6 separate regions of the Homo sapiens genome follow, and all the other regions are linked to region 6. Evidence: promoter capture Hi-C in human tissues and cell types (Jung and others, 2019). All regions are on one chromosome and are shown on one strand. The core of a region is centred on a gene start or on the middle of the fragment in contact, and the rest is flanking DNA. Distances in the headings are between cores, read along the strand shown.

The links. Contacts are between HindIII fragments. The study calls those that stand out against the background at their distance.
Region 1: a contact is called between a fragment that was not itself captured here and the fragment with the promoter of KATNB1 in region 6, in 3 of the 25 tissues and cell types used here (dorsolateral prefrontal cortex, mesenchymal stem cells and mesendoderm cells).
Region 2: a contact is called between the fragment with the promoter of ARL2BP here and the fragment with the promoter of KATNB1 in region 6, in 1 of the 25 tissues and cell types used here (hippocampus).
Region 3: a contact is called between a fragment that was not itself captured here and the fragment with the promoter of KATNB1 in region 6, in 1 of the 25 tissues and cell types used here (lymphoblastoid cells).
Region 4: a fragment that was not itself captured here is called in contact with the fragment with the promoter of KATNB1 in region 6 in 5 of the 25 tissues and cell types used here (adrenal gland, dorsolateral prefrontal cortex, hippocampus and 2 more).
Region 5: a contact is called between a fragment that was not itself captured here and the fragment with the promoter of KATNB1 in region 6, in 1 of the 25 tissues and cell types used here (heart left ventricle).

Annotation. Positions count from the first base shown.
Region 1 is chr16:58,115,386-58,118,806 of GRCh38, reverse strand. It overlaps CFAP20 (cilia and flagella associated protein 20), which reads left to right. Exons shown (of 6, transcript NM_013242.3): 2 at 1,856-1,935; 3 at 2,655-2,766; 4 at 3,350-3,421. Among named protein-coding and RNA genes, the nearest start is that of CFAP20, 12 kb to the left of the region's middle. The HindIII fragment of the contact is 4,657 bases long and covers 1-3,421 here.
Region 2 is chr16:57,243,625-57,246,891 of GRCh38, reverse strand. ARL2BP (ARF like GTPase 2 binding protein) reads right to left here and starts at 1,633. Exons shown (of 6, transcript NM_012106.4): 1 at 1,487-1,633; 2 at 751-812. The coding sequence starts at 1,524. It overlaps LOC124903697 (a long non-coding RNA gene), which reads left to right. Exons shown (of 2, transcript XR_007065082.1): 2 at 1-1,077. RefSeq lists silencers at 1,235-1,444, 1,535-1,914. The HindIII fragment of the contact is 10,161 bases long and covers 379-3,267 here.
Region 3 is chr16:58,098,607-58,101,728 of GRCh38, reverse strand. No RefSeq gene overlaps it. Among named protein-coding and RNA genes, the nearest start is that of CFAP20, 29 kb to the left of the region's middle. RefSeq lists an enhancer at 2,722-3,122. The HindIII fragment of the contact is 6,305 bases long and covers 1-3,122 here.
Region 4 is chr16:57,453,054-57,455,847 of GRCh38, reverse strand. The region is part of intron 3 of COQ9 (coenzyme Q9); the gene reads right to left. Among named protein-coding and RNA genes, the nearest start is that of COQ9, 7.0 kb to the right of the region's middle. The HindIII fragment of the contact is 7,285 bases long and covers 1-2,794 here.
Region 5 is chr16:57,432,483-57,435,482 of GRCh38, reverse strand. It overlaps CIAPIN1 (cytokine induced apoptosis inhibitor 1), which reads left to right. Exons shown (of 9, transcript NM_020313.4): 5 at 1,271-1,439; 6 at 2,923-2,996. Among named protein-coding and RNA genes, the nearest start is that of CIAPIN1, 13 kb to the left of the region's middle. The HindIII fragment of the contact is 7,381 bases long and covers 1-3,000 here.
Region 6 is chr16:57,734,416-57,737,871 of GRCh38, reverse strand. KATNB1 (katanin regulatory subunit B1) reads right to left here and starts at 2,102. Exons shown (of 20, transcript NM_005886.3): 1 at 2,017-2,102; 2 at 589-894. The coding sequence starts at 628. It overlaps LOC107984852 (a long non-coding RNA gene), which reads left to right and starts at 1,228. Exons shown (of 2, transcript XR_001752221.3): 1 at 1,228-1,436; 2 at 2,265-3,456. RefSeq lists enhancers at 907-976, 2,345-2,514, 2,261-2,555, 2,535-2,644, 3,274-3,456 and a silencer at 1,795-2,034. The HindIII fragment of the contact is 17,781 bases long and covers 1-3,456 here.

The DNA.
Region 1 (3,421 bases), core at 511-3,010, 380 kb before region 6:
TCTGTCGCCCAGGCTTGAGTACAGTGGCACAATCACGGCTCACTGCAGCCTCGACCTCCCAGGCTCAGGTTATCCTCCCACCTCAGCCTCCTGAGGAACTGAGACGATAGGCACGTGCCACTACACCTGGCTAATTTTTTGTAGAGATGGGGTTTCATCATGTTGTCCAGACTGGTCTTGAACTCCTGAGCTCAAGCAGTTCTCTCGCCTCGGCCTCCCAAAGTGCTGGGATTACAAGCGTGAACCACCATGCCTGACCCCAGCCATGTTTTTTTGGTTTTGTTTTTTTTTTTTCGTTTTTTGTTTTGTTTTTTTTGAGATAGGGTCTTGCTCTGTCACCTACTCCTCTAGGCTGGAGTGCAGTGGCACAAACACAGCTCACTGCAGCCTGGACCTCCTGAGCTCAAGTGATCCTCCCACCTTAGCCTCCCAAGTAGTTGGGACTATAGGCACACTACAGGTGCACGCCACCACACCTGGCTAATTTTTTGTAGAAACAATGTCTTACTATGTTGCCCAAGCTGATCTTGAACTCCTGAGCTCAAGCTATCCTCCTGCCTTGGCCTCCCAAAGTGCTGGGATTACAGGCATGAGCCACTGTGCCTGGCCCCAGCCCTGTTTTGAAAGTGCCTTTGCATATCTCTGTTCTGTCCATATTAGTTGCTTAAAAGTTTAATGCTTGAAGATAATTGTTCTTTCCTAAATATTTTGAGAGGAGGAATCTGTATTGAATATTGATTCCTCCCCATCATCTACCTCCTACATATGCAGCAAACAATACAAAACAATGTAGGATGAGGTGCTAAATTATGTCGTCTAGACAACATGAGCCAGAAAAACAAATCAGAGAAAAGAGAGGTCAGTGTGGGCTGAAAATGCTAAAGAAGGCATCTGTGTGTGGCACAGATGGGAATTGAATTCCTGCTTTAAAAAGTAGAAAATTAGGCAAAAGCAGATAGGGAAGCATGAAGCAGGATAACTCCAGGGGAGGAATGCTTTCACTTTTTGTTGCTGCCCTCCTCAGTAACACTCAGCTTTTCTTTGGCTTTTCTGGCCAAAGAAATATACAAGGCAGGACGGGCGCAGTGGCCCATGCCTGTAATTCCAGCACTTTGGGAGGCCAAGGCAGGTGGATCACAAGGTCAGGAGTTCGAGACCAGCCTGGCCAACATGGTGAAACCCCGTCTCTACTAAAGATACAAAAAAAAAAATCGGCTGGGCATGGTGCTGCACGCTTATAATCCCAGCTACTCAGGAGGCTGAGGCAAGAGAATCGCTTGAACCTGGAAGGCAGAGGTTGCGGTGAGCCAAGATCGCGCCATTGCACTCCAGCCTGGGCGACAGGGCGAGACTCCGTCTCAGAAAAAAGAAAAAAGAAAGAGAAAGAAAGAAATCTACGAGGCAGTATGAGGCAGTGGAAAGGCTGCTGAATCCTTAGTCTCCTACTTAGGGTTTGGCATTTGCAGTTCCGGGGTGCCAATGTCCACATTTGTAAAATGAAAACAGTATCACCTGCCTTGTTGTTTTTATTGTGTGAGGCTTAAGTGAGAAGGGGATGTGTGTGATATTCCTGGTGCATAGTAGGCATTCAGTAGATATTAGCTGAATCTAAATTGAGTTGATGTATTTGGGGAGAAGTTTCCCCAGATTTAGGGATTGCCAAGTTACCTGGGATTCCCTTGGTGGTTGGTGTGACCCTGTCTAGAGGTAATAGCTTGGCTTACTTACATATAAGCTTCAGTGTGCTGTGTCACAAATTTCTTTGTACGCCTCTTGGGCTACCGTGGTTTTCTTTAAATAGTCCTATTCAGCCTTGTCAGATATTTCAGTACTAATCGAATTTTCTTTCTTGTAGGTACGGAATGGCCACATCAAAAGAATCACTGATAATGACATCCAGTCCCTGGTGCTAGAGATTGAAGGGACAAATGTAAGGTAGGTTGCCACCTCTGTTCTCCCAGAGACATCATATACTAGGGAGGCAGTACGTCATAGAGGTTAATAGCACAGACTGCGGAGTCAGAGTGCCGGATGTGAGTCTATCTCTGCCACTTAGAGCTTACCATGGGCAAGTTACTGAATCCCCCAGACCTTAGCATACTCATCTGTACAATGGGCAGAATAATAGTACATTTTCCTTATAGGGTTATTGCGAGGAGTAAATAAATGAATATATATAAAACACGTAAAGCCTTGCTTAGCACATAGTAAGCACGATGTCAGTATTAGCTATATTATTAACCAAAGTGTGTGTTGGGGTGGGGAGTGGGCAGTGTTGTACAGCTCATCCAGTGGGTGGACAGTGTGGTTTTCAGTGCCATAGAGGTCTCAGTTTTGGTTTTCTGTCATTCGATGGCTCCCCTGGACCAGAATTGAGGTCTTCTCTCACTGGAGGAGCTTCTAAGATCCACTGTCTGGCTTTGTTTTTCAGATATTTTATTGCTGCTGTCTAGTCCTGTGTTAAGCTTTTGTTTCTGGGTCCAGCGTTTGTTAAAGCAGCCGCTGACTTAGGGCTGAGGGATTCACTGGGTGGCGTGTCTGAATCTTTTAGATCTGCTTTCCAGTGTATCCTCTTGGACCGTGTGTTATTGTTGTGCATACCACAAAGGAAGAGAGTCCAGGAGTGTGTTTATTAGTATTTCCTCTCTCTACAGCACCACATATATCACATGCCCTGCAGACCCCAAGAAGACGCTGGGAATTAAACTTCCTTTCCTTGTCATGATTATCAAAAACCTGAAGAAGTATTTTACCTTCGAAGTGCAGGTAAGTATGTGTACATGAATGTGTCCACTCTTGGCTATACCAAAGTGATAGCCTTTGAACTGATGGGAAAAAGTGACCCTACAAAGTATCTTTATCCTTTTGCATGTATTCTTTTCTGCTTCTAGTATAAGCCCAGTGCAGTCCTTGTTATGTAAATTTGATATTAGTAATAAAATTTAATCAGGTTTTTAAAGAAACAGCACCTAGAAAACCTAGTAATTTCAAAGTGTCAGAGTTAGCGTGGTATCCATTTGGGGAGTGATTATTTAATAGTGGGTGGCTGTTCTGTTTTAGTATTTCTGATTTTTCAAAAGGAAGAACATTTATATACTCTATGGTCTGAGAGCCTGCTGACTGTGTTATATGTCATAAGCAGCTGGTGTTGTCTTGGCAACAAACAAGATAAACTTGCTACTTCCGGGCCATCTGCATGCAGTGTATGACCTGTGTCTGGTCTGTTTATTTTCCTCTAAGTCTCAGCCTTGGGAAAGCAAGCTGTGGGAATTCAGGTCCTTGTCTGGACAAGGTTGTGTGCTTCTTCCAAGACAGAGCTAGTGTGATGCTTCTTCTCTGTATTTCACAGGTACTAGATGACAAGAATGTGCGTCGTCGCTTTCGGGCAAGTAACTACCAGAGCACCACCCGGGTCAAACCC
Region 2 (3,267 bases), core at 384-2,883, 490 kb after region 6:
CCAGCTGAAGCTTAATACCTTGTTTTCTTTATGGCCATGTGTGCTTATGGTTATGGTTTTATGTGTTTATTTTCATTTTTATTTTTTCCAGACGGAGTCTCGCTCTGTCGCCCAGGCTGGAGTGAAGTGGCACGATCTCGGATCACTGCAAGCTCCACCTCCCAGGTTCACGCCATTTTCCTGCCTCAGCCTCCTGAGTAGCTGGGACTACAGGCGCCCGCTACCACGCCCGGCTAATTTTTTTTGTATTTTTAGTAGAGACAGGGTTTCACCGTGTTAGCCAGGATGGTCTTGATCTCCTGACCTCGTGATCCGCCCACCTCGGCCTCCCAAAGTGCTGGGATTACAGGCGTTAGCCACCGCACCTGGCCTGGTTTTATGTGTTTTATGGCATGAAAATGTTAAAACTCAAAACTATCTAAAATTGAAATTGCTCTTACCCTACATAAGAAATAGAGTAGATCATTATTTCCTATAGTTTTGCGAAGAACGCCACACTGCTGGTGCCCTATTAGCCTGAGTCAGTCCCTTCCAGCCTCTGAATCTATGCTTATTAGATGTTTTCAGGAGTACTGGGCTGTTTGTTTCTAAGACAAACTGCAGTAAGCCTTTACTTAAGTATTACATTGTGCTACATTAAAAATTGCAGGCAGCTTGATGTTTTCTCTTTTTAAAATTAACTCTCCAAATTGATTTCAATGTCCTTAAAGAAACAAGCAAGTCCTTAAAAACAGTATCTTAAAAGCTTACCCATGATAATGTCCTCTAAATATCCAACCACAGCATCAAATTCTGCATCAGAGGCGGAGGAGCTGAAAAACATGCCTGGATTAGGTGCTATTTCAAATAATGCATTAAAAAAATGTTTTTAGTATGGACGTTTTCAAACATGCACAAGAGAAAAAAGAGTAGCAAAACGAACTTCCCATCACCCATCTTCAACGATTAAGAATGACTGACTGATCTAGTAAGTCCAAACAGAAGAAAACACACTCGGCACGTTTGTGACATGAACGTTCAATGTCATGACTCCACTTTAATAAAAACTTGTTCTCCAGGCTCTTAGCTATCACCCCATACCTGTCTGCTTGTGAGCATGAACCCGGCACGGGCGAAACACCTGCCGGGGGGGGTCATTTGGTCAGGAGTCCGGGAGGCGGGGGCCAGGGAGGGGTGGAGGGGCCTCGGGCGCTCAACCCCTCCAGGCTTTGCTGACAGCTGAGGGTTGGCGGCTGGGGATTGTGATGGAGGCGCTGATCAACGGTGACACCCGCCTCGCACTCCTGTCCTGCGGGGCCTGAAACCTGCAGCCTTAGTACTCTACAAAAGGAAGGCCTGGAGCTGGGACGGCGCCTTGGCGGCCCCCACCCTGCCCGGCCCGGCCCGGCCCGGCCCCTAAGGACACCTGTTTTATAGGGTCAGGCCCCGGGGCGAACGCCCGCTGCCTCCGGCCCCAAGTCGCCTGCGCCCTGGAGGAGCTACTCACAAAGACAGCGCAAAGCTCTCTCCTTCTAAGGCGTCCATCGCAGTCGCCCCGAGTAGGCTCCAACCCCGCCCGCGGCCCAACTCGCATGCAGGGCGCGGCCGCCCGGCGGGGTTAAGGCCTCTCAGCCAAGGCCGCGGCCAGCTCACTGCCAGGTCGGGTCAGCGCCTGCGCGCCAGGTCCGGCCTTGGATACCCTCTGCCGCCACGCGTCGGTCCGGCCTCTACGCCCGCCTGGCCCTCTGCGCGCGCCGCCGACGCCGCAGGTCCGGGCCTCGGTGACTGCCGGAGGGGCGCGGCGCCCCGCCTCCTGTCACCATGGCCACCGCAACCCCTTCCACCGCCTCACGGCCGGCCGGCATCCAATCACAGGCGAGCGTTACCGATGCCGGGGCGGGGCAAGACAGGGAGAGGAAGTCCCGGAAGGGAGTGCGGAGGGATGCGGCGCTTCGGCGAGCACCCGTTGTGTGGGAACTCCGTCTCAAGTCGCCCCCATTGTACGGATGAAGGAATCGAAGCCACGAGCCAGAATTTCCTCACTCGCAACTCGAGAATAAATTGCGCCTCCCTGAGTGTGGAGGATTAAATAAGTAGTTTAAGGCGTGTTTAAAGAGCGCTTGTAAGTTGCCAAGTCGCTGGAGAGCCAGTCCCTTATCCCTTGAACCAGGTGATGCTGACGTCTGATTTCAAGACAGTTCCTACCCCTCGTGGAAGGAAAGCCCCATCGCAAGAAGTCGATGTCCTGTAATTTACGTTATAATCTTCGCATCATAAAGATTACTCGGCAGTAATTGGTTTCTTGACTAATTATACAAGATGAGAATTGAAGAACTATTTTGAGCCACGCAATCAGGAATCAGATACCTTTCAGGAAAAGGCCTCTTCAAAACTGCCAAACTTTGAAAAAGGATTCGTTTGAGCTGATTTCTCTTGATTGGACAACTAAGCATTGTGTCTCTTTAGTTGCATGATACCTTATGGCCAAAGTGTGGTATATGACTAGAGGAACTAGAGGGGTTTAAGGTATGAACTGAGGGTCAGGTGGCCAGTCAGAATGGGTTAGCAGACATTTTTTATTTTTTTGAGACGGAGTCTTGCTCTGTCGCCCAGGCTGGAGGGCAGTGGCACGATCTCGGCTGGCTACAACTTCCGCCTCCCAGGTTCAAGCGATTCTCGTGCCTCAGCCTCCCGAGTAGCTAGGATTACAAGTACGTGCCACTATGCCCGGCTATTTTTGAATTTTTAGTAGAGACAGGGTTTCACCATGTTGGCCAGGCTGGTCTCGAACTCCTGACCTCAGATGATCCACCTACCTTGGCCTCCAAAAGGGCTAGGATTACAGGTGTGAGCCACCACAACCGGCCTAGCAGACATCTTTGAATGGACTTAAAATAGATATCCGTGGGATCTGAAACAAAGATGGTTACAAAGACACAGTCGGGTGTGACAGCTGTGACCAAGGTGACATAAATTATTACTAATTTATTTATTTATTGAGATGGAGTTTCGCTCTTACTGCCCGGGCTAGAGTGCAATGGTGCAATCTCGGCTCAACACAACCTCCGCCTACCGGTTTCAAGCGATTCTCCTGCCTCAGCCTCCCGCGTAGCTAGGATTACAGTCATGCGCCACCATGCCTAATTTTTTTGTGTTTTTAGTAGAGATGGGGTTTCTCTATGTTGGTCAGGCTGGTCTTGAACTCCCGACCTCAGGTGATCCGCCCGCCTTGGCCTCCCAAAGTGCTGGGATTACAGGCGTGAGCCACTGCGCTCGGCCTATTTATTT
Region 3 (3,122 bases), core at 371-2,870, 360 kb before region 6:
ACTTTGGGAGGCCGAGGCGGGTGGATCACTTGAGATCAGGAGTTTGAGACCAGCCTGGCCAACATGATAAAACTTCATCACTATTAATAAATATATATATACAAAAATTAGCTGGGCGTGGTGGTGCACGTCTGTAATCCCAGCTACTCAGGAGGCTGAGGCAGGAGAATCACTTGAACCTGGGTGGCAGAGGTTTACAGTGAGCCGAGATTGCACCACTGCACTCCAGCCTGGGTGACAGAGTGAGACTCCGTCTCAAAAAAATAAAACAACAACAACAACAAAAAAAAAAAAAAAAACAAGGCCAGGTGTTGTGGCTCACACCTGTAATCCCAGCACTTTGGGGAGGCCGAGGTGGGCAGATCACCTGAGGTCAGGAGATTGAGACCAGCGCCAACATGATGAAACCCTGTCTCTACTAAAAATACAAAAATTAGCTGGGCATGGTGGCATGCGCCTGTAATCCCAGCTACTTGGGAGGCTGAGACAGGACAATTGCTTGAATCTCGGAGGCGGAGATTGCAGTGAGCCGAGATTGTGCCACTGCACTCCAGCCTGGGCAACAAGAGTGAAACTCTGTTTCAAAAAAAAGGGAAGAATTGGGAGCAAATACGATGGTGGTGGTTTCAAGCCATGAAGTTTCAGGTGCTTCCTCAGAGAGCAGCTGATTACAAAAACCTGAGTGGCTCAGGTCCTAGAGGAGCACCCAGTCCCCTCGTCTCAGTACCTGCCCCTTCTCCTCAGACCCCAAGTGTCCTTGAGCAAGGAGAGGAAAAGATGCATTAAAGGACAGTCTGGAGAAAGCAGGTAATATTTATTCATTTATTAATGTGTATCTCATTTCAGTTCCTAAAAGGATATGAGGTTTACCAAAAGTGCATATAATGTGAAGTTTTCCTTTTTTAGAGACAGGGTCTTGCTCTGTCACCCAGGCTAGAGTGCAGTGGCACGATCACAGCTCACTGCAGCCTCAACCTCCTAGGCTCAAGCGATCCTCCCACCTCAACTTCCTGAGTAGCTGGGACTACAGGCATGCACCACCATACTCGGCCAAGTTTTTTAAATTTTTTTTTGTAGAGATGAGGTCTTGCTCTGTTGACCAGGTTTGTCTTGAACTCCTGGCCTCAAGCAACCCTCCCACCTCACCCTCCTAAAGGGCTTTGATTATAGGCAGGAGACACGTCGCCCAGCCGATGTTTTCTTAAAGCTAGAAGGATGAGGGGGAGGAAAAAGGCTCAGTAAAGGCAGGAAGGTCAAGGACTACCTGCCAGGTGGAGGTCTGTTTTGATGCCACCTCTCTTCATATGTGCTCGGGAGGTGGCCTGAAAATGTGGCCCTGAAAACCCTTGTGACCCGGAGGGAGAAAGTGATCAAGCTTTCCCAGGAAAGGGACAGGGGTGTCATCCTCACCCAGGGAAGTGTTCCCCTCTAGAAATACAGTTAGAGAGAGTGTGGGGGTGGGTGAACTGTGTGATTCTGGACTTTGGGTGGTGGTGTGGAGGAAGGCTTTGTGGAGGAAGGACTAGGAGGTGTGGCACCAGGCTGTGGGGGGAAGGAGAACCAAGTGGAGCGAATCAAGAGGCCCAGGCTCGGGACAGCCAGCTTTTGGGTAAGCAGGAGCACGTGGTTCCCTCCCATCGATTTCCAGGCTGCAGCCCCAGGCTTGGAGGCAGGCGGGTTCCAGCCACACGTGGGCCAGGCTGGGGTGCTAGGGTAGGGGAGGCTGCACCCTCCAGATCCCCTCTTTCACCTTCTCCAGCTCCAGGGGGAGAGGAACTTTTTCCAGAAGACAGGGCAGCCCTAGACACAGGCTCCTCACCCCACGTCGCTGCCACCTGCTCCAGCTCCGTGGGCTTGGGGCTGTGGGTGGGGGGTTCTCTCCTTCCATCCCCAGCTCTAATCCCTTGCAGCTGTTGTCCTTCTGGGGAAGACAGTTGTGTCAGAGTGGAGGGGAGTAGTTATTTTGAGTTGATCACTAGCTTCCAACTGGGACACATGGATGGCCTTGTCGGGCCCAGCAGTGGGGTGAGCCTGACGAGGGCAGCCCACATGGCCACAGGGGTTGCTGGGGAGCAGGAGGCCACCCTGGCTGCAATGGGGGCTGCAGAGGATAGAGACGGGCCAGGGAGGCCAGAGGCCAGAGGTGTGAAATGTCGGAAATAGATCTGGTGTCCTGAGCATGGGATGGTAAAGTGGGCACAGCTCCCCGCACTGGCCCCTGTGCCACTGGCAACAGTGGAGAAGGAAAAGAGGTCCCTGAGACTGAGGCTGGGCTGCTGGGGGAGGGTAGTGTCTCTCCTCGTAAGGGGCTGGCTAGGCAAGGGTGGTGATTGTCCCCCTCTTCCAGGCAGGCCCTGCCCAACACCTTCTTCCATCCAGAAGGCAGGCTTAGTGGAGGCCTTACACCTCTGATGGCGCAGGATCATTGCAGGGCAATGAACCAATGGATGTGCCCTTCTGAGTGGGAAAAACCAAGTGGCTCAGTGGCTCAGCCCTTCCCTTCAGGGCGTGATGACTTGGAATAAACCTGGCTCCAGTGCTTACCAACCTGAGCTCTGAGACCTGAGGATGTGACATGAACCTCACTGTGCTTTCCTGTTTCACAGAAATGGGAATAACAGCCACGTGCACCTTCCTAGGGCATGGCGGGGATTCACTGATAGCAGATGGAACAGCCTTGAGGCAGGAGTCAGTCCACAGTGAGTGTTGTCATGGTAACTGTAGTTGTCATTGTCTTAGGGTCCTCATGTGGTCCTTGTGGTTGGCCTCCTTCTTGGGCCCCCAACTGTGTCTCAGCTGCATAGAAGGGTTTTATGGCGAGGAGAGGAGAAATGAAGAAATCTTCACCAGGTGGGAAGACTGAGGCTCCTAGAAACGTGGGGAGGAGAGAAGAGTCTCCATGGACTGTCTGCCCCGGGAGGGCAGGGCCGCATCTGTTTCTTCCCTGCTGGATCCCCTGCCCCCAGGACAGTGCCTGGCACAGGGATGAAAGAATGAGTGGATTTCTGAGTGAATCACCCTGGGGTGTGGACCTGCCCTGGGCTGCTGGCTGAAGACGATTGCATGATGATCTCCTGGGCTGGCCAGTGCCAGGCCACGGCTGTTGGATTCCTCTCTCTGGA
Region 4 (2,794 bases), core at 295-2,794, 280 kb after region 6:
CCTCAGCCTCCCCAAGTGCTGGGATTACACATATGAGCCTGGTCCACTCTTGTTTCTGTACTCTTCCCATTTGTGTTCAATCATGTCCAAACTTCCATCTGTTTCTCCTGCTTGGTGCACCCTAGTTCTACCCCTCGCAGCCAAACGCCTCGCCACTTCCTCGCCTTCTATGCACACCTCGATCCACTCCAGTTGATTTCTGATCCAGTTCTCCACCCAAACGGTTGTTGCCCCAGTAACCAATGTCTAGCTGCTTAATCCACACTCTCCTGCTTTGCCTCCAACATCAGGATGCTCTGACTTAGACTTTGACGGCCCATCCTATTCTACTCTCCCCTTAAATGTCCGCGTTCCTTGAGAGTCTGGACTCCCCTCTCATATGACATTATATTCTTGCCCTGGACAATCTCACTGACTTCCATAATTATTTTATATATATATATATATATAAAATCAGCGTGCATATATATACTGTATATATATATATATATGCCCAAATGTGTATCTCTAGTCCAGCTGTTTCCTCCAGTTCCTGACCTGTATGCTTGATGCCTCCACTGGTTGACTCAAAAACTCCTCATACTCAACAAGGATCAAGACTGTACCCTTCCCCAAAGCTGGTCCTCTTCCAATGGCCTTCACCTTAGAAAACACCACCATTGGGTACCCACACATGCAAACTTGCAACTCTGGTGCCATCCTGTCACTCTCTCCCATGTCCAAGCTATTCCTGAACTTACCCACTGCCATTACTCTAAGCCAGACCACCTCATCTCTCCTGTATGTCTGGCAGCAGCCCCCAATGAGTCTCTCTCTGCCTCCAATCCACTTTTCATCTGGCAGCCAAAATGAGCATTTTGAAATGCCAAATTTAATCCAATATCTTCAATTGTTCTTAGAAGAAAAGCTTGACTCCTCATCATGACCTTTAGGACCTTGCCTGATTTGACCTCGACTGACCTTTCCAGCCTTGCTCATCTCAAATCTCTCTTCCTGCACTCTCTGCATGGTGGTTCTCTGTGGTTCTTCTAACGTACCATCCTTCTTTTTCTTTCCACCTTGCCTGTGCAGTTTCTGTATTTGGACTTGTCCATCTCCTACCCACAAAGTCAGGTAAAGCCTATTCATTCTTCAATTCTCAGCTCAAAAGCCTTTCCTGACCACCCTGTTACCCACCTCATATATGGTTTCAGACAAGGTCTCACTCTGTTGCCCAGGCTGGAGTGCAATGGCATCATTATGGCTCACTGCAGCCTTGACCTACCAGGCTCAAGAGATCCTCCCACCCCAGCCTCCCAGGTAGCTGGGACCACAGGCAAGCACCACCATGCCTGGCTAATTTTTGTATTTTTTGTAGAGATGGGGTCTCTCCCTAGGTTGCCCAGACTGGTCCCAAACTGCTGGGCTCAAGCAATCCCTCTGCCTTGGCCTCCCAAAGTGCTGGGATTATAGGCATGCGCGACTGTGCCCAGCCCTCCAACCCTTTAATAGGACAAATTAGACTATTTGTCATAGTTTAACAGGCAACATGTTTTCTTTTTTTACTGATGTACTTAAAAATGGTGCTTCTTACAACCAATGGCATCTTAGAGTCAATGAAATATGGTAGTTTTGATCACAGACAATTCTTGCCAATAGGTTGCCTTTAGAACACAACTCTCAAGAACCAATTCCATGGTTCATTACTTTTATATCTACAAAATAAAGCCATTTCCACCCTATTGAGGGAAAAAAACCAGTCAATCTCGCAGCTGTGACCTGATCTAATGATCGGGTCCCTCCATTATACAGCCCAACAGCACCTTTCCTTGATAGCACTTACCACATCTTCTAAGTAAACATTTGTATATATTTTATTAATGTTGCTAGACTGGAAGCTCAACAAGGGCAGGAAGCAGATCCATCTTGACCACTTTGACCCCTGTCATGTCTCTTGGACTAGCACAGTGCCTAGGGCACATTATTTGCTCAATAAACATTTAAAGAATGAATCATATAAAGGGTTTTAATTGGAAAGATCTAGGCATAAATGTTGATAGTATGATCTTTGGTGTGATTATAGGTGTTTTCTACATTCTTTTTTATATTTGTTTGTATTGTTCAGTTTTCACAATGAGCCTACAGTGGAGTCAGAGCACCCACATTTCACTAATGAGACTTCTGTTACCAAATGTGCACTTGGGAGTGAGAGAAGACAAGGAAATAACAGTTAAATTTCAGTAAAGCAGCAACCTTGCCCATTGTCCATGGGTAGATGCCCTGCAGCAAGCCTGGGATGGAAGATGCAACTCTGTCATCCCCTCAGTCTCTTGGAGGATGGTATCTTGCTATGCTGGAGGATTCTCTACAACATGGCCTGAACATGAGCCTGCTGCCTAATCTAAAGCAGCAGTCTGTACTAATGCAGAAAATGCTATTAGAGTTTCTGGGAAAATAAGATGTGTTGGTCTCCAAAGTGGTGCCTTCTTGGGGGTTTTCAAACACCATATGTCATTAATTCTAAGATGCAGATATATTTTTCATTTTAAAAAATCAGTGTGAATCACAGAAGTGCTTTGTCATAGTTCGAAGGGCAGTATGTTTTCTTTTTTACTGATGCATTTAAAAATGATGCTTCTTACAACCAATGGCATCTTAGAGTCAATGAAACATGGGAGTTTTGATCACAGACAATTCTTGCCTAATAGATTGCCTTTAGAACACAACTCCCAAGAACCAACTCCATGGTATGTTCTTTATAACTACAAAATAAAGCCAGTTCCACCCTATTGGGGGAAAAAAACCAGTCAATCTT
Region 5 (3,000 bases), core at 470-2,969, 300 kb after region 6:
CAACCCTTTCTTATTTTTCCTTTTAGCTTAAGGTTTTCTGTGCTTGATTTTAAAATAAGGAATGTGTATTAGGCCATTCTTCTGTTCCTATAAAGGAATACCTAAGACTGAATAATTTATAAAGACAAGAGGTTTAATTGGCTCACTGTTCTGCAGACTGTACAGGAAGCACGGGCCTGCAACTGCTTGGCTTCTAGGGAGGCCTCAATGAACTTTTACTCGTGGCAGAAGGTGAAGCAGGAGCAGGCACATCACATGGCAAAAGCAGGATCAAGAAAGAGAGGAAGAGTCGGGGTGGGGAAGGTGCCATACTTTACAACCACCACATCTCATGAGAATTCAGATGGTGCTAAACCATTCATGAGAAATCTGCCCCCATGATCCAGTCACCTCTCACCAGGCCCCACCTCCAACATTGGGGATTACAGTTCAACATGAGATTTAGAGGGGACACATATCCAAACTATATCAGACTCCTCATAAAAATTCACTTTACACCAAAGCATACAGAATATAAAGTGACATCCCACTTCTTGCTCACACTTCCCTCCCCAGAGGAAGCCACCAATGCCTTTTTGTATGTCCGTTCAGACCTTTTCCTATGTATTTACAAGCATCTACATGCACATACTTTTTTAAAAATGTAAATAAGATCATAAGTATACATTGTTCAATCACCTTTTTTCCCACCCTTAGATATCATAGACACTTACCTACTTCAGTGTATTTCCCTTCATTCATATTAATGATGTAATAGTATTCCATACAATAGATGGACTGTGATTTATGTAACCAGTCTATAATTATTGGACATAGAGGTGGCACCCTGACCCTTTTTTTCTACCTTTACTCTCTGCTACTTTATCCCAAGGAACATAGAAAGGATTTTCCTCCCCCTTTTTCTTTTGGGATATAAATTTCTGCTGTCTTCATTGTGGGCATTCTTTCCTGTTACACAGTAGGACCACATCTGGTTCATTTTCATAATTGTATTACATCCCAAATAACTAGTATATGCCTCATCCCTAATGTTTTTTAAGTACTTTTACATTTTCCAAGGGGTAGGCTCCAAGTAAACATGCAGACAAAGGTTATACTCTAGGGTTCTGATCAGTGAGAAACTGAATGTGAGGCATAAAGTGTTATCTGTTACCATCCACTGTTACATCCTTAATGCACAGAAATGAGTCTTTGACTCCTGTGTAGGTAGACATAGTAAACCATTTTACAGAGGAGGGTGAACTAATCCTTTTGATGTCTTGAATTCTAGCTGCAGCGGGAGCCCCTAACCCCTGAGGAAGTACAGTCTGTTCGAGAACACCTTGGTCATGAAAGTGACAACCTGCTGTTTGTTCAGATCACAGGCAAAAAACCAAACTTTGAAGTGGGTTCTTCTAGGCAGCTTAAGCTTTCCATCACCAAGAAGTCTTCTCCTTCAGGTAAGGCTGGCCTAGGGACATTCTTCTGTTTGAATGGGCTTAGAGGGACATGTTAGAAATTGAGCCAGCAATAAATGAGATGGTGATATTTTTAGAGGATTAGTCCTTTGATTTCTGCCATTTCCACAAAGAAGAATACTTAATGTACTATTATCATGGGCATATTAGGATCCAAAACTGAAATAATACATAGGTATTATCTAGTTCAGCTCCTTCTTCTGCACCAGAAGATACCGAGGCCTCCTAATTTTACAGGACTGAGTCACACAGTTTAATTAATGAGGTCCTTCCAGGTCCCAGAATTAACGTTTCTCCTCAGAAGACCTCACAGTGTAGTGGTAATGGTGTATGAGAGTGCCCTGTTCCTGTTCTCATGTGCTTTTTTCCCCATGCCAGGAAAATCAGCTGTTCTTACTTTGAGGATGCTAAGACACTTATAAAACTATATTTCTTCTGACTAGAAAATTGTGTACAAGCACACGCGTGCACGCACGCGCACGCACACACACACACACACACAGCTCCATCCTCATCCTTCCTATCCCTATTTTTAAATGCCTGAATTGACCCAGCTGTGAGGTATGCAGACATTAACAGATATTTACTGGTACATTCCCACTTGTACGGTTTTGACTGTCTAACCTAAATCTTCAAGAAATCCTTTGGAATCTAACCTTTCGATTCATGGTTCCAGAATGGGTAGGAATAGCTTAGAACAGTTGGCCTTGTGGAAGGTATGAGCATCCAGCTGTGACAATGATCACTAGAGGGTACTCTTACCCCAAGGGCCTGCGAGGATTTGCCCACACTGCATCCGAGCCTCAGCTCTCTGCCTCTTCCTTGCATTCTCCTGACTAGACAGAGAACCAGGAAGTGTGAGGTTTGTCTGCCACTGATGGTGTTACCTTGCCACCAGCAGCTCTAGAGCCTATTTTCTTGTATGTAGCAGGTTTACATGAGGCTAAAGCTCTGCTATTTTTGAAGGTTTTGACACATTTCTCATTTAATCCTCAAAACACCTGCAGTAACATAGGAAGTACAATTTAACTTCATGTTATAGAATGGAAACTAAGGTATCGAGGAGGAAGCAATATGGAATGGAGGTTAAAAGCATCAGACAGGCTTTGCAGCCTGTGGAACCAGCCTAAGTGTCTAAACCTGTTTCCTCAGCGGTAAAAGTAGGATGACAGATAGTTACCTCATAAGGTTGTCAGCAGAATTAAGTTAGATAATGTATATAAGTGCTTAATATGGTGCCTGGTGCAAAGCAAGAGCTTAGCAAATGGTGACTTCTGTAACTATCAGCAAGTGGTTGGCCCAAGGTCAGACCTCTCAGAGGGGTAGAGCTGGACTGTGAACCCACATCTTCTGCCTCCCAGGCCAGTGTGTTCTCTTCTACACAGCAGGAAGCATTTATGTATGTTTGTAATTAATAGTTTCTGACTGTGTTTATGGAGTTTTTTCTTTTATTGCTTGGACTCAGTGAAACCTGCTGTGGACCCTGCTGCTGCCAAGCTGTGGACCCTCTCAGCCAACGATATGGAGGACGACAGCATGGTGA
Region 6 (3,456 bases), core at 853-3,352:
CAAAAGCACTCTGGGGTCCTCAATAATTCTTAAAGTATGAAGTCTTCAGATGAAAGAGTCCAGATCCACTTGTATAGGGCAATGGTGGGAGTGGACAGTGCCCATCAGTTACAATCCGAGCCCTGTCTGCATCCCTCTGCCCGCCCCTCCTCGCTCCCACTCCTTCCCCCATCCCAGGCCCAAGATGCTTTTATCTGACTGGGGAAGTTTGACTTGTGAGATGTCTGAGAATGCTGTGAACATCTTTCAGGATTTCTCACCCCACTGTCAGCCTAACTGGAAATGCTGTGCTAAGTGCTTTAGGATGGGTTCATCCTGTCACTTGAATTTCACAGCAACCATAGAATGCAGGCGTCATCTCATTGTACATATAAGAAAACTGAGCCTCAGAGAGGTTAAGTCACCTGCCCAGTGTCACCCAGCTAAGAAGTGCCACAGTCATGATTTACATAATGGTCTATCTTACTCCCAAGTCTAGGAGTCTCCTCCTGTGCCAAGAACAGGAAACAAAGCTGTGGGTTCAGGCCTCCCAGCAACAAGCCGCTAACAGAATAAATGGGGTGATAAAGAAAAATGAAAACCACTCACGCAACTTCCAGGCTGTCTTGGTGACCACAGGGGTGGCCATCCTTCAGCTGGCTGGCACCTGAAGCCCCACCCACAAAATAAACTGTGCTTTCCTCGTGGGGTGGGGGTGGATCCCCCCCCAGATCCACCAATCAAGTTGGCAGAGAGTTCCCACACATCCAGGCAGACAGAATGCCTCGTCTTCTGGCCCTGGGGTGCCTCGTGGTTCCAAATTACCCACAGCAGCAACAGCAGCAGCCTGTGCACATCTGTCACGATCCTGGATCATGGAATGTTAGGCTCGAGCCATCTCAGCTCAATACAGGGCTGCAATACAAACAAGAGGTGACGTCATGTTAGAAAATGCTTGGTAAGAGCTGTTGCTCCCTGGATCACCAAGACCACTTGATAAAGACTGACACCCACCAAAGCCACCAGAGTCAGAAGCTGCACTGCAAATTAGGTTTGGGAATCTGCAGAGGGGGCACCTCAGGTAGGGTGATTTGGAACGTAAGGAAAAAGAAACTCCTCCCAGAGGCCAGGATAATGAGCTGCAGCTCTGTTCCGGGATGCTGGCTGCCTAAAGTGCAGCAGCCGCAGTGGGGCGGAGAAGACCACGTGTCTGCAATTCACATAGATTTCCTGCGAGTCGTTGTTTTTGTCTGACGTGTGGGATGTGGGAGAGCGGAGTCAGAAGCTAAGCTTAGGGGCCTAGGAAAGGCATCCCAGAGACGGCCACTGAAGTCCTCCTTGGAAAGAATCTCGAAGACGACCCTGATGGTCCAATTCCCCAGCTCCTGGCAAGGGAACCGCTCCTGCTCCCTGCGATTCCCAAGGACAGAGCTAGGAACTAGGCCTCCAGTCTGGGCGTAAGTGGCTATGACTCTTCAACTCTAAAAGGCCTCCTCATGGAGCCTCCCACCTCCTTCCCACAGCCACTTCACCTCTTTCCCATGAGCCCGCTCCCCTCCGTCCCCTTTCTCCTGGGTCCCCGGGTCTGCCTCTCTAGTCCTCCGTTCACACCCCCTTTTCTCCCTGCCCCCTGAGTCTCCCACTTATGCACATCCTGTCTCCCGATATCCCTCACGTGGCCCCTGCCTCGCCAGACTCCCGTTACTGCCCTTTCCCATATGCTCGCGGGGTCTCCCATTCATTCATTCTCCTACTTCTCTTCTCCCTATTCATTACCTGTCCTTCTGCAGACCCCCAGCTCTGCTTCCGGCCTCCCTGGTTTTGCCCCCTCCGGCCTCCACCCCGACCCCTCTCGTCCGGGGGCGGGGGCAGGTCCCTCGGCCACGGCTGATCCTCCCAACCCTCTGCTTGCGGAGTACGGGCTCTAGCCTCCCCACGCTCAGAGCTCTCTGCCCGCAAGCCCAGCCAGCCCCGCCTGGCTCGGCCCAGCCCAGGGCCCACCGTCCCCTCGCCACCTCGTCCCCTTGCCCACTCCACCTGCAGCTGCGGCTCCGGAGGCCGAGGCTCCGCTCCAGGCGCGACCCCCACTTGCCTCCATCCCCTGCCTTGATTGGCCGCTGCTTGACAACCGACCCTCACAACAAAACCTCCGGCTCAGAGCCCCGCCCACCTTGCCTCCCGCACCAATCAGCTGCCGCGGGTGCTCCGCCTCCTGCCAGGACTGACCAATGGAAGCAGGCGCTTCTGCCGCTTTTCCTCAGTACCCGCCCTCTTTTCCTAAATAGGACTAATCAAGAGGAAGGAACGTTCAAGAGCCGCCCCTTGGCCTCTAATAAACCAATGCAAGCTGCCGTTTCCTTAGTCCCGCCTCCGTCTCAAGTTTTCCCTTTCCTCTCCGTTTCCTCCCTCGAACCTAATTTGTGTCTGAAAACTTTTGAGAGCCGCCCTCCAATGGCGGCTGCGCCAATGGCTTGAGCAACCGTCCTGGATTGACCAATCAGCGTCCGCATTATTGGAAAACTCAATTCCCAGATAGCCAATGGGAAAGGAACTTCGGGGGCAGTGTGAAGCCTCAGGCCTTCCATCTTGGAGTGGGGCAAAACCTAAGGAGGCCTTAGTCGGCATTTTGCCGAAGCTCCTCATTCTTCACTTTGCCTGCAGATGGTCCCCCGTGGCAGGAGGACTTTGTCCCTGTTCTTTGACCCGGACGCCGGCTTGAATCCCCCATGGGAGGTCTAGAAGGAAACAGCCTGATTCCGGAGCCGAGGCAGGCGCTGAACCCTGTAGCACTGCACACGCAGCCACCGCCTCGACTAATGGATGCGTGGGCAAGGGGCTGCTCCCTGAATGGCTGCAATCAGGGAATCGGAGAAAGGCCAGCTTTATTTGTGACACGTTGGGCGGGGTGGGCTCTGGGAAGCGCCGTAACCCTTCTCGACTCAGGGCCTCTCGCGTGGCCGCTTAGGAGGGACTTGGCCCCGCAGCCGCCTCTCCCTGTTGCCCAGAGGTTGTCCCAGGCACCCAGAGCCCCTCGAACCTTGCCCTTCGGCCTCCAGCCTCTCACCGCAGGTCAGGGCTCCTTGGGCTCACATAACGCCCAGTACAACCATAAGAGGTAGGAATTCCTGTTCCCATTTACAGATGAGGAAACTGAGGCCCGGGTTAAGATGCTTGCAGAAAACCACACGGTCAGAAAGTAATAGCCCCAGAATTCGAACCCTTGTTCTGAAAGCCAAAGCGTGGGGGAGTCCCCACTCTGCCTTCTGCTTCAGCCTTCTGCTTCAGATTCTCCTGCTTCAGCCTCCTGGGTAGCTGGAACCACAGGCGCCCGCCACCACGACGGGCTAAGGCTAGTTTTTATATTTTTAGTAGAGACGGGGTTTCTCCATTTTGGCCAGGCTGGTCTTGAACTCCTGACCTTAGGTGATCCACCCGCCCCAGCCTCCCGAAGTGCTGGGATTACAGGCGTGAGTCACC